5 separate regions of the Homo sapiens genome follow, and regions 2, 3, 4 and 5 are each linked to region 1. The links are contacts of gene promoters, found by promoter capture Hi-C in human tissues and cell types (Jung and others, 2019). All regions are on one chromosome and are shown on one strand. Each heading gives the region's core, a stretch centred on a gene start or on the middle of the fragment in contact. The rest is flanking DNA. Distances are from core to core; before and after follow the strand shown. Region 1 holds the start of RCAN1 (regulator of calcineurin 1). Region 2 overlaps LINC00649 (long intergenic non-protein coding RNA 649). Region 3 overlaps LOC105372790 (a long non-coding RNA gene). Region 4 overlaps LOC105372790 (a long non-coding RNA gene). Region 5 has its middle 14 kb from the start of MRPS6.

Region 1 (2,566 bases), core at 22-2,521:
GGGGCCCAAGATTTCCCTTTCACAGTATGACGGTTCCAATTTCTTCACATCCTCATATCATATTCTATTTTATGAGTTATCTCTAGATGGGTATTATTATTCCTCTTGGGTTTAGCTCCCTGAGGACACAAACTGTCCTAAGACTATGATAATAGTAATCATAGAACCGTGCACATGGCAAGTTCTGAATAAATCTCAGCTGTTGGATATACTTTTTGTTATAATTACTAACACTTCCTAACTAGAGAGTAAGCCTACTCTAAGAAAAAATATAACTGTAATTTCACAACCTCCAAAGAACCCAGTGCATAAACAGCTACCATTTATTAAGCACTGACTGAATTCTTAGTAATATGTCTTCATTTTTTTCAGATGAGGAAACTAAGATTCAGCTTATTTGTACAAGTAGTTAAAAAGCAAAGCTGAAATTCAGACCCAAGTTCTCACTGTATCATACTGTCCAAAAAAGAATTCTATTTTTCAGGAAGAGACATGTCTGCTCACTTGAGGTCCTCTTATTTTTCCGCTATTCCCCAAAGGAAAGGGGTGATCTCTTAATTCTTTCGTTATGTCCTATTGTACATAGCATATAATGGTAATTCAGAAAAATTACTTCTAATTACATAAATTTTCACAATGGTATAGTGACTAATACGCTGAAATAGAAAAGTAAGGCATTGTTATCATGGTCTAGTTCAGTCTTTATTGCGACTATATCTGATAATATACGGTAAGCATCTAACCACTTGCCAGGGGCCACAGAGCCACAGGGAGACTATGTCTCGCTTAAATTCCCAAAAGTGGGCCCCTGTGCTTCAAAACGTCCCCGCATGGGAACCACAAAAACGTTGCCTCCCCAGTTATCACCCCAAGGGCCCAAGAGCCGAGGACTCTGCCCGGCGTCCTTCAGCTGGCACCAGCTGTCAGAAAAGCGGAACTGGGGACGAGGACTTTGCCCCTAACCAACATGGCCGCCCTGAGGCTTCGGGCTTCGGGCGGCAGAAGGAAGGTCACGTGAAGAGAATTCCGTTCCTTTATTGGCCCCGTCTCCTGGAAGGGCGGGGTACAATAACCCAACCGGCGCCGGCCTTAAAGGGGCCACCGTTGGATCTGCCGGTGGCCGGCCCTAGGGGCTGGGGGGGCGGTCGCCGCGCCGGGCTTCTGCCCCTCCCGCGCGGAACGGTGACGGGCGGGGCTGGCGCTGGGAGGCCGTGTCGCTGGGAGACTGCTGACAGCCCGCCGCCTGCCGCCGCGCGATTCCGAGGGGGTTAACGGCGGAGCCGCCGGCCGGGCGCGGACCGGAGCGCGTGAGGCTCCGGCGCGCAAGCCCGGAGCAGCCCGCTGGGGCGCACAGGGTCGCGCGGGCGCGGGGATGGAGGACGGCGTGGCCGGTCCCCAGCTCGGGGCCGCGGCGGAGGCGGCGGAGGCGGCCGAGGCGCGAGCGCGGCCCGGGGTGACGCTGCGGCCCTTCGCGCCCCTCTCGGGGGCGGCCGAGGCGGACGAGGGCGGCGGCGACTGGAGCTTCATTGACTGCGAGATGGAGGAGGTGGACCTGCAGGACCTGCCCAGCGCCACCATCGCCTGTCACCTGGACCCGCGCGTGTTCGTGGACGGCCTGTGCCGGGTGAGGACCGCGCCGGGCGGGCCGTCGGGGCGGAGGGCGGACACTTGTTGCCCGAGGAGGCGGCGCGGGTCGCAGCGCCCAGTCCCGGCCGCGCGCGGGGCGGGGAGGCAGCGACGTCCCCCGGGCTGCTCGGCCGCGGACCCGTCAGGGCTGGGGCGTGGGGACGGCGCCCCGAGGGTCCCGGTCCCCTAGCACCCCCGGGGCGCGCGGAGCTCACTGCAGAGTCCCACAGGCTCGCCCCGGCCCCCGTGTGCGCCCAGGCTGGTGCGACTAGGGGGGTGAATTCGCTCCCCAAGGTGGGGCAGCGCCGCCGCCCCCTGCGCTCTCGCCATCGCCCCGCATTTACTCGCTGGAGGAGGGGGTCACCTCATTCCTAGGGAGGAGGAAACAGACATTGAGCGGCGACGTGACTCAGTGTTCATAAATAGGACGACGTCCCTGCATTCCCAATCTGCACTATTGGAAGAAAAGCCAATGTTTGGGTGAGGATCCGTGGTTGCTCATTAGCCAGCGGCTGGCCAGTTTTGGTGGAATTGTGTTGGGGGGAAGGGGACCATCTTTCAGACCTTTAGGATATTTAGTCAAGAACCTTGCCCCCTTGTGTGAAGGTGTGGCTTGCCGCCATCGGGGACACCCAGTACATGGGGAGTCGACTCCTTCCCCCGCCTCCCCCCACCCCCGCAAAATCCACACAATTTAGACACTTTGGAGGGTGAGGGGCAGGTATGAGTAATCAATAATGGTGGTGGGGAGGAAGAATTTATTTCAAATCTGCAGTTATTGTGCAGAATAAAATGTGGACAACGTGGGCGTCACAGAATGAAACCGGTCTTTGAGAGATGCCCCATTAGGAGAGCAGCTGTCAAAAAAAGCAGTGCTTTCAGCGCTTGGCTGTGGGTCCACAAATGCTGTCAATGAACTATAGTTGAAGGCTGCTGCCAA
Region 2 (2,566 bases), core at 36-2,535, 660 kb after region 1:
AAATCCAAGGTCAGGCACAGTGGCTCACACCTGTAATCCCAGCACTTTGGGAGGCCGAGGTGGGCAGATCACAATCTCAATCAAGAGATCGAGACCATCCTGGCCAACATGGTGAAACCCCATCTCTACTAAAAATACAAAAATTAGCTGGGCATGGTAGCACACACCTGTAGTCCCAGCTACTCAGCAGGCTGAGGCAAGAGAACTGCTTGAACCTGGGAGGCGGAGGTTGCAGTGAGCTGAGATCATGCCACTGCACTCCAACCTGGTGACAGAGTGAGACTCCATCTCAAGAAAAAAAAAAAAGAAAGAAAGAAATGCAAATCCAACCAGAGTGATTAAAATAAGCCTGAGGAAAAGACAATACAAATTGAGGATGTGGAGCAATTAGAATGCTCCTACACTGTTGTCATTGCTGTTGGACTTTTTTTTTTTTTTTTTTTTTTGATACATGGTCTCACTTTGTTGCCTAGGCTGGAGTGCATTGGCGCGATCAAAGCTCACTGCAGCCTCCATTTCCTGGACTCAAGTGATCCTCCTATCACAGCTTCCTGAGTAGCTGGAACTACAGGTGCACGCCACCATGCCCAGCTAATATTTTAATTTTTTGTAGCGATGGGGTCTCACTATATTGCCCAGGCTGGTCTCAAACTTCTGGCCTCAAGCAATCCTCCTGCCTTGGCTTCCCAAAGTGTTGGGATTACAGGCATGAGCAATAGTGCCTGGCCCATATGCTGTTATTTAAAATGAACAGCAACTTTGAAAAACTGTTTAGCAGTATTCTCCAAATCTGAGGTTATACATACCTAAATTCAATAATTTTTCTCTTAAATATTTGTTCAACATAAATACCTTATGTGCAACAAAAACTCACATACCAGAATGTTCTAAGCAGCACTATTCACCAATATTCAAAAACTGAGAGTCACACAAATGTCCTGGATGAACTTTCAAACCCAAGTGCCCTGCTTCCCAAAACCAGCGTGTACACCCCCATCCCCAAGGGATACACCACATCAGTCATGTACTTGAAGCTCTGACTTCCAGTTCACTCTTCATTTGGCCCCTACAGATTTGCTTTACTTTCTTATGAGCTCAGTTTTGCACTGAAGAGGCTGCATGTGACTGTTCATTCAGAACGTCAGGAGGTTTTGCAGCAGAAGTATTACAAGATTACATAGTTCCTGATATGCCTCATCATCTTTCCATGGCCCTGTCTAGCTGTGAAGATTCTTCCTGGCCCTGGTTTTGCAGACTAAAGATAATATTTTGTTGTAAAGCGGAGAGAGCAGAGAGAAAAAAGGAAGATACTTTCACTTAACACCGAAGGGTCGGGGGAGCATGGTTGGGGTAGTGTCTCTCCCCTAGTTCATCTGCTGAGAGGCTGCAGTGAACCTTGTCCACATCCCACTGGAGAACCAATGCCCTGCCTGGCTGGAAATCAACACCCTGGCTGTCCTAAGGGCTCATCTCTGGTTTGATGAGGTTGACAACTATTTCTAGAGGCTCCCATCACCCAGCTGAGCAGCTGTCCACCTCCCTCAGGTCTCTGGGTGGCACTGGGCAGGGCTGGAATCTAGGCTGCCAGGCACCCCTGACTGAGATGTGCTGAGAGGGTCAAGCCTGGAGAATCCCTCCCACCTTCTGCTTTGCCCCTGGCTCCTGTATGGATGCCCTTCAAGGTCACGCCTCTCTCTGATAGAGGACTCAGTTTAATTACCAGGTGCTGCTTGGACTTCTCGTGTCCTAATTTTCAAATAGCCCACAAGGCCCCAGGCCGCATGTAAACAGGCAGGGAAAATAGTAGCTCCTCCTGAGTGCTGTGCATGGCCCCAGAGGCCGGGATGACCAGTTTTCTGCTGACCACTTCTTTGTGGTTGAGTAAAAAGGCCTTCGCATTTCGGGATAGAACTGAGGTTCCTTAGGATCTACTGTCATCTTCAACCTGTGGCTAAAGAACAAGGGCTGGTGAACAGGGAGATGCTCAGGTCATAACAACAAAAACAGGTGACAGTGATGAAGTATCCTACATGCCAGGCACGGTACACAGGGCTTTACATGGGTTAGGTCATTTAATTCTCAAAACAACCCGAAAGATAGAGATATAGACATACATACATATGTATATATGCGTATATATACACACATATATTATAAATAAATATATATTATAAATTAATGTATAATTATATATTATATATAATCCCATTTGTGATTATTATAATCATATAATTATATATACACATATTATAAATAAATATATAATTATATTTTTTATATATATATATAAAATTCCCATTTTTCTGATGAGCAACTGAGACTGCCAGAGGTATGTGACTTGCTCCAAGTGACACAGTTAAGTGACAAACCCAGGACTGAGCCCCAGAAAATCTGGCTCACATCCTTGACCACGGTTCTAGGTGTGATCTTTTGTCGCTGATCCCAGATTCTACGTCACCTCTAGCACATGTCAGGCACTGCCCCTGGCGGACCCTTTCCACCCTTCCTGCTTTGCTGTCTCAGTGGACCCTTCAGTAGGTGTGTCAGCGGGAGGGGTTCACAGAAC
Region 3 (2,566 bases), core at 29-2,528, 620 kb after region 1:
GGGTACACAGTCATTTTGGCATGAGAAAGACCACTTAGAAGGGAGGTCTTCCTTTGGAAGCAGTGACATTGAAGCTGTGAGATGAATGAAAAGAAGCAGCCAGCTACATGAAGAGCTGGGGAAGAGTGTGTTGGCAGAAGGAATAGTGACTGGGATGCCTGACACAGAGACTCACACCTGTAATCCCAGCATTTTGGGAGGCCGAGGCAGGTGGATCACCTGAGATCAGGAGTTTGAGACCAGCCTGACTAACATGGTGAAACCCCGTCTCTACCAAAAGTACAAAAATTAGCTGGGCATAGTGGCACACGCCTGTTGTCCCAGCTACTCGGGAGGCTGAGGCAGAAGAATCGCCTGAACCCTGGAAGCGGAGGTTCCAGTGAGTTGAGATCCTCCACTGCACTCCAGCCTGGGCGACAGAGCGAGACTCCACCTCAAAAAGAAAAAAAAAAAGAAAAGCAGAATAGTAACTGGGAAGGCCCTGAGGCAAGAGTGGGCTTGTTGCATGGGGAGAGGCCAGTGTGGCTGGAGCAGGGTGACAAGGGACAGTGGGGAAGGATGACATTGCAGGGTCATTAGGGACTAGATAGGATGGGGACGAGTATAGATTTTACTCCAAGCATCAAGCGCCTCCTTGGAGCGCTCCAAGCAGGGGAGTAAAACCCCTTAGGTTTTCTAAGGTCTGCCCTGGCCGCAGCTGGGGATGGGTGGTGGAAGGGACTGGAAGGAAAGCAGAGAGTCATAGTGGTTGCCCCAAAGATCTCAATCTAGAAAAGAAACAAAATACCTAGAACTCCAGTCAGGGTGACATACATTACAACAGAGCTTTAAACTAACGTCCAAGATAGCCACCAGTTGAGAAAAAGTTATTCCAGCTGAGGAGACAAGAGGGGACTCTTGAGGGTGCCGCTCAGGCCTCGGCTTAGGCTTCAGGTACGACCATCTTAAATTTGGTCTGCAATTAGTTTACGTTTTTCAGTCACCACATGAGGTTACTCTGATGCCAAATCACCATTCTTAATCTGCCCATCCCCACAGAGGACACAGTTAATATCTTCTAGAGCCTTATACTCTGGCCACAGGGCACAGAGCCAAGCTTTCAATAGGAGCAATGTATTAGTTTCCATGTGGGTAGCAGCAGCAGGAAGGCATCTGATTTCTTTGACTTGAGGAGTTCAGAAGATGCTGGAAACCACAGAGAGGGAGGCCTTATTTCCTGGTTAGATACTAAGAGGTGTGTCCCTGGGTGGAACCCACCTTGGCAAACCTGTGAAGCTCTCCTGGTTTCAGGGATCAGAGCAGTTCAGAACTGCAAAGGATCTCACCTGTCATCCAGTCTAGCATCTCCCAAGTCCAACAGTGGTCCTGAAACAGGAAGTGATGGAAATGCAATCTCCAGCCTTCCCAGGTCTCATGAGCCAGAATCTGCATTTTTCACAAGATCTCCAAGTGATGTGCATGCATATTGTAGTTTGAGAAGCACAACTCTGAAGATTCTCACCTTCAGTGGATAACAGATTCACCAGCATAGATTTAAAAAAAAAATACAAAACAAAACACGATAAGAGATGCCTGAGCCCTATTCTAGGGATTCGGTTTTAATTGGTCTGGGGTGAGCCTAGGCAGTTTTATGTAATTGTTTTTTTTTTAAGATCCCTGATCATGCAGGGACATTAATCAGAGAATCTCTTATGTAATCCAAAGTTCTTATTTTTACTGATATGAAGCTCTGGCTCAATAAATTGAAAAGATTCGCATCTTATTCCAATGCAGGCATCTTGGCAAAAGTGGGCCCAAGATTCTGCATTTCTAGCAAGCTCCCAGGTGAGGCCAATGCTGGTCCTCAAACCATACTTGGAATAGCAGGTGTAAGAGTTAATTTTACGTGTTGACATGACTGGGCCATGGGGCGCCCAGATATTTGGTCAAACACCATTCTGGGTGTGAGGTTGGTTTTGGATAAGATTAACATTTAGATCCATAGACTTTGAGTAGATTGCCCTCCATTATGTGGGTGGGTATCCTCCAAATAGTTGAAGGTCTGAATAGAAAGCAGTAAGACTGGCCTCACCTGAGCAAGAGAGGATTCTCCAGCAGATGGCCTTTGGACTTCATCTGCAATGTTGGCACCTCCTGGTTCTCCTGCAGACTGCCTTTGAACTAGAACTATAACTAAAGCATTGCTTCTCCTGGGTTTCCAGACTGCCAGCCTACCCTGCAGATTTTTGACTTGTCAGCTTCCATAATCTCATGAGCCAATTTCATATAATAAATCTCTTTCTATAAATATATACACATTCTATTTGTTCTGTTTCTCTGGAGAAGCCTGACTAATACAACAGGCTTACAAAGGTTGCTCTGCTGAGACTCCAATTTTTGCCAAGATGGAAAATTCACATAAACCATTATACGTCTTGCCCAGAGTCAACCTAATTGAGGTACAAAACACAAAATTCAGGAACTAACGGAAAAACTGTGAGAATACTGAAAGAGAAACTGTTGCATGTGTATGGTGGTAAGAGTGGTAAGGGTTGCAGCCTGGGATGAGCCAGCTGGTGCTGCTCTA
Region 4 (2,566 bases), core at 29-2,528, 590 kb after region 1:
ATTGCCATAGTCCTAGTTCAGGTCATCATTGTCTTGCTCCTCGACTAGGAAAGAAGCTTCCCCATGGTCTCCCTGTCCCAAGCTGTGTGGAAACTCAGATCTTATCACTTCCATATTAAATACTTCAACTGTCCTTACAACCCTCAGAATAAGGTCCAAGCCCTTGAACTTGGCTTACAAGACCCTTCACCATCTGGCCTTACCTACTTCCCCAGTCTGATCTCTCCATATTCCACCCTCACATGTTAATACTCCAGCCAAACCAAGCCACCTACACTTGGCCTCCTGGTCTTTGCTTATGGTTTTCTGCTCCTGGAATATTATTTCCAGCTCTCCTGGCTGCCCAAATCACACTTACATTTTATATTCATTTATTCCACAAACATATCTTGAGTGCCTGCTATGTGTCATAACCTATCCTAGGCGCAGAGGATGCGGTAGAAAACAAAACAGAAAAATATCTCACTTCATGAGCTTCCACTTTGGTTAAGAGAGACAGACACAAACTATCAGCAAGTGAATACAGGGAGTGCATCAGATAGCGCTAGTGCTTTAAAGAAAAATAAAACAGGAGGGTAAGGGGTTAAGTTTTTAACTAAGCAGTACATGAGAGTCCTCACCGAGGAGATGGCATTTAAGCCTGGCTTGAACATTACTCCCTCCTGGAAGCCTCCTGGAAATTTCCCAAGACCAGGGTAGGCGTCATCTTTATAAACTTCTATGAAGCCTTTATTTACCCATCATAGCACTTACCGCACTTTAAAGGACTTTTGTGTTTGCGTGTGAGTGTCAACTGTAAACTTTGTGAGGACAGAGACTGAGTCTGTTATTTATTGTATATCAACAGCTCCTTGTAGATATATGTTCCTTGAACAAACGGATGCATTGACAGCCTACATTATTTACAAGTTTTATTATACAAAAAATTTATGTAGTATTTATTGTAATGTCCTGTGTTACAAATCACTTTCTCACCCACTGTCTCGTTTGAGAGATGTGGGTCTTATTGTCACCTTTTAACAGACACTCAGAAAAGTTAAGTTTCTTGCCCAGAGTGTCACAATAAAGGCTAAACCCAGCTCAATCACAGCTCTCACATCTTCAGACCCAGAGTGCTTTCTAGAAAAGCCCCCTGCCTTCCTGCATGTTCTAAGAAAACGCAAACCACTAACCCCAGGGCATTAGCCGTCCTCAGCCAATTTTTACTGTTCCTCCCTGAGTTATCATATTCTCATCTCCCCAGAAAACTTCCACCAAATGCTAAAGCCAACATTTAAATCCAAAGGTAAAACCTTCTGGAATTCCTTGATGTAGCCACTGCACAGGCTGGCCTGTGTTCTCATATCAGTTTTCAGAACAATTCTTGCCCTCCTGCAAGTCCACATTTAGCAGATCCACTCAGACAACTACAGAGTGGGGATCAATTGAATTCCTTTCCTAGCTGACACTTTTGAGCTAAGACTGTCTTTTCCATGTGTTAATTTTAAAATGTGGGTTTCATAAAAGCTGCAGGCGGAACAGCAGATGGGGGTCCGTTAGCAATCATTAATATCCTCTATTCGTTGCCTGCCCCCCCAATTGATAAAGTGTCACTCCACTTGGGCAAAAGGGGCCAAAAAGGGAGCGGGGCACAGAAACTCACTGTTCAACAAAAGCCCTCCCATGCAGTGAAGAGCTGGCCCCATCAGAGTGCCTGTGTCTTGCAGGATTTGGAGAAGGGAGCCTCAGCTACCCTCCCTTGAGCGAGGTGAAGTTTGTTGCAGGAGTGATGGGACAGCTCTTGGTAGTTTTCCACTTGCTACTCATGAGTTCTCACCCTGTTTGGCTCTTTGTCACTTGGTCCCATAAAAACACCCACTGCAGGATGCTTGCTCATGCCACCCACCCACCAAATGGCATGTGGCAAAGAGGGTCAGAAGTTCACACACTTCCTCTTTGTTTTCTTGTGTTTCTTTCTGCATAAGCACCTCTCAACAGGCCAAATGGTTGTTGTTGCCACATAGATTTTTGTATTGATGGTTTCCTGCCATCCCCTCATTCTCAAGAGTGGATGGGGGCAGAACAGGGGAGAGTTAACTATTTTGATGAAGAGCAGTTTATAGGATGAATAGGCACAGACAACAAAAGTAAGCCTGGATGCTTTGAAATGAGCTGCTTTGTATTGAAGAGCTTGCTTCTGCCCTGCAATACTTCCTTGCAGTTGAATAGATACTGCAGAGAGTAAACACACTTATCTCTCTCGAGAAAGAAAAAAAATTGTGTTCCCAGGAAGCTGGAAAATTCTCCCATAGGTATAAACATTTAGGAAAAAAGAGATAAGCCGCCTAATTCTAATAACTAGGAATAACCAATTAGGTCATCTGTCCTCACCTCTGTCACTTCTCTCTGAGGCTTGTGGTGTTCAAATTCTGCTACCCTTAACTTTCTAGAAGGAGGGAGAAACACCTCAATTCCTTTCCACTCTTCCGGTTCAGATGGTTCAAACAGCTGGACTTCTTTGACAAAAAAAAAATGACTTTAATCATGATAGAAACATAGTACTTGAAACACAGAACAAACAGAAGAG
Region 5 (2,566 bases), core at 45-2,544, 560 kb after region 1:
TGTGCGTGGCCTGATGCCATCGATTGTAAAATGCATTCTAATTCCCAAGATGGTAAAATGTAAAACACTGTGCACCTTAGAATCAGTAAAATATGATAGTATTCTGGTTTTGATTCTGCTCCTCATTGATTCTACACTAGTCTCTACATTTTCCCAGGGTTGCAAAGTCCCTTACCCAACTGAGGGGAAGAGAGTTGCTGTCTCCAGTGAACTGAGTCTACTGGTGGCAGATTCAGGACCTTGACTCAGTTACAAATTCAAGTTCTTGGTAGAGAAGTAAACACCAAATCTGGACACAGGTGCTTTGTACTTCCAGAATGATTTTGCCTGAGCAGCCATGAATACTGGAGTTGGAATAGTAGAGTTGGAACTTGTCAGCTGTGTCAAGAGAGTCCCTCTGTGCCCACATCTTTGCCCTGGGATTTAGTTTCATAACAGTGTATCATGTGTTTTCTGGGTGGCTTTCAAATTTCACCTTATGTCAATCTTAATTGAAACCTCTGTCAACTTTTCATCACCTGATTTGAGTGGGCAGATCCTACAAATACATGCACACTTTCACCCATACATACACACACCAGGCTAATCTCTTTGCTGAAAGATTAGGATTCGTTGAATGAGTGCTATTTGCAACACTCTTTATATTTTCGCCAATCTCATTGGCCATCATTTTGTAATTATTACATTAAAAAAGTAAAAACAAGGATGTATCAAAGGACTCAAGAGTGCATCCTAGAATCCAGTAACAGAACGTACATCCAGGGCTCCTGGGGAACTAGACAAGACATCCTTGGTTTCTCTGGGACTACATGTATCTTGTCTCTGCTCTGCTCATGAAGTGTCTGACATCACCCCACCCTCCCCATGCCATCTTGTCTGTTTGGAGACAAGCACTCTCTGCCTCTACATGCCCACCATGGAAGATGGCTAGCCCATAGCCCAGGTATCCTGAGGACACACATGCCAAGTTCAAGTGACAGCAGATACCACCATCTCTGATCAGGAGGAGGAATCTCACTTGACATCCATCTTCAGATCCATCTGAATCCACGAGAGTACAGTGATGGCATACAAATTCTTGCTTCCAAGAGAAGAACTATCCAAGAGAATTGTAGGCAGAGCAGGTCTCACCAAAGGTGGCTAGTTGGCAGCAGTACAGCTTGGTGGTCAAGAGCATGGAGCCAAAGCCAGACCGCCTGTGTCCAATGACTGTGTACCCTTGAACAAGTAACTGAACTCTGTGGTTCAGTTTCCTCATCTGTAACATAATCAGACCTAAGGCATAGGGTCGTGTCCAATATACCACACACAATACACGGAAAGTACAGTGCAGCCTGCAGTGTGGGAAGTGCTTAATAGCGGTTTGCCATTATTGCTACAAAGGCCCAATGCTTTAAAAGAAAAATTGATTCAGATCACCAAGCTCTGCTTGACTCTTATTCCCCAGATGTCCCCTCTTTCCACAGCTGGGGAAACCTGACTCCACTTGAAGGCTCAGTGGCACTCCAGGAGCTGAGAAGAAGCAGATCCTAATGAGCAGAAGGGATGTAAGGAGCTCTAATTTGGCTCTAACACAGTGCCCGGCTCCATCAGTGTTAGCCTGCAGCACATAATGGGTTTGCAGTGCCGTGAGGCTTCAGTAGAATGTAAGCTCCAGAGAACAGGGCCTTGGTCTAATCATGGTAAGGTCCTGGCCCCTGATACAATGCCTGACACAGAGGGTGATGAATAGATATTTGCTGGCAGAATAAGGTAGGAATTTCCTCTAGATCAAGCTTGTCCAACCCATGGCCCATGGGTCGAATGCAGCCCAGGATGGCTTTGAGTGTGGCCCAGGATGTCTCAGTATGGCTTTGAATGCAGTCCAACACAAATTCGTAAACTTTCTTAAAATCTATGAGTTTATTTTGCAATTTTTTAAAAAACTCATCAGCTATTGTTAGTGTTAGCATGCTTTATGTGTGGCCCAAGACAATTCTTCTTTCAGTATGGCCCAGGGAAGCCAAAAGATTGGACACCCCTGCTCTAGATGGTGGGCTGTCCCCACTTAACTGGGGATATCAACCTCTGTGCCCCCTCTGAGGGTGGTACCTGAAGCCTTTGGCTAGGTTGAGTTCCCAGGGAGGGAGATGAGGAAAAAGGGGGTCTAGCTGGAGGCTTGAGGAGCCTCAGCCTTGGAGCCATGGGTTCCATTTGGGACATAGGTCTCTGCCATTGCTGCTCCCCCCACATCCTCTCTCCCTGGAGGTGCCTTCAGCATGATCCCCCTCAGAAGGCCTGAAACACAAACAGCTGGGGAGGAATAGAAGACAGCGGGAATCTTCTAATCTAGAGTAGGGCAGGAAAGGGTGTCCTTCTCCTTTTCTGGGTCCGCAGCTGTGCAAAACAGTAACATTGCAACACCACTGGCATTTTTCTCCCTCCTCAGGTGGGAAATATTTACCCTGCCTAGAGCAGCTACAACACACACTGGTGACCCATCCCTGTGCCCAGGTCCCTATCTTACCACGCCATCCAGTCCCAGTCTCCTTTCCTGTCCTCTTGTTAGCAGACCTCCCGAGTACCA

Evidence for each region. Contacts are between HindIII fragments. The study calls those that stand out against the background at their distance.
Region 2: a fragment that was not itself captured here is called in contact with the fragment with the promoter of RCAN1 in region 1 in 2 of the 25 tissues and cell types used here (dorsolateral prefrontal cortex and lymphoblastoid cells).
Region 3: a fragment that was not itself captured here is called in contact with the fragment with the promoter of RCAN1 in region 1 in 1 of the 25 tissues and cell types used here (lymphoblastoid cells).
Region 4: a fragment that was not itself captured here is called in contact with the fragment with the promoter of RCAN1 in region 1 in 1 of the 25 tissues and cell types used here (lymphoblastoid cells).
Region 5: a contact is called between a fragment that was not itself captured here and the fragment with the promoter of RCAN1 in region 1, in 2 of the 25 tissues and cell types used here (lymphoblastoid cells and spleen).

What each region holds. Positions count from the first base shown.
Region 1 is chr21:34,613,818-34,616,383 of GRCh38, reverse strand. It overlaps RCAN1 (regulator of calcineurin 1), which reads left to right and starts at 1,271. Exons shown (of 4, transcript NM_004414.7): 1 at 1,271-1,624. The coding sequence starts at 1,373. RefSeq lists silencers at 1,037-1,466, 1,657-1,756. The HindIII fragment of the contact is 10,572 bases long and covers 1-2,566 here.
Region 2 is chr21:33,950,509-33,953,074 of GRCh38, reverse strand. All of the region lies in intron 2 of LINC00649 (long intergenic non-protein coding RNA 649), which reads right to left. Among named protein-coding and RNA genes, the nearest start is that of LINC00649, 21 kb to the right of the region's middle. The HindIII fragment of the contact is 6,850 bases long and covers 1-2,566 here.
Region 3 is chr21:33,997,182-33,999,747 of GRCh38, reverse strand. All of the region lies in intron 2 of LOC105372790 (a long non-coding RNA gene), which reads right to left. Among named protein-coding and RNA genes, the nearest start is that of LINC00649, 67 kb to the right of the region's middle. The HindIII fragment of the contact is 3,518 bases long and covers 1-2,566 here.
Region 4 is chr21:34,022,414-34,024,979 of GRCh38, reverse strand. All of the region lies in intron 2 of LOC105372790 (a long non-coding RNA gene), which reads right to left. Among named protein-coding and RNA genes, the nearest start is that of MRPS6, 50 kb to the left of the region's middle. The HindIII fragment of the contact is 5,384 bases long and covers 1-2,566 here.
Region 5 is chr21:34,058,252-34,060,817 of GRCh38, reverse strand. No RefSeq gene overlaps it. Among named protein-coding and RNA genes, the nearest start is that of MRPS6, 14 kb to the left of the region's middle. The HindIII fragment of the contact is 6,965 bases long and covers 1-2,566 here.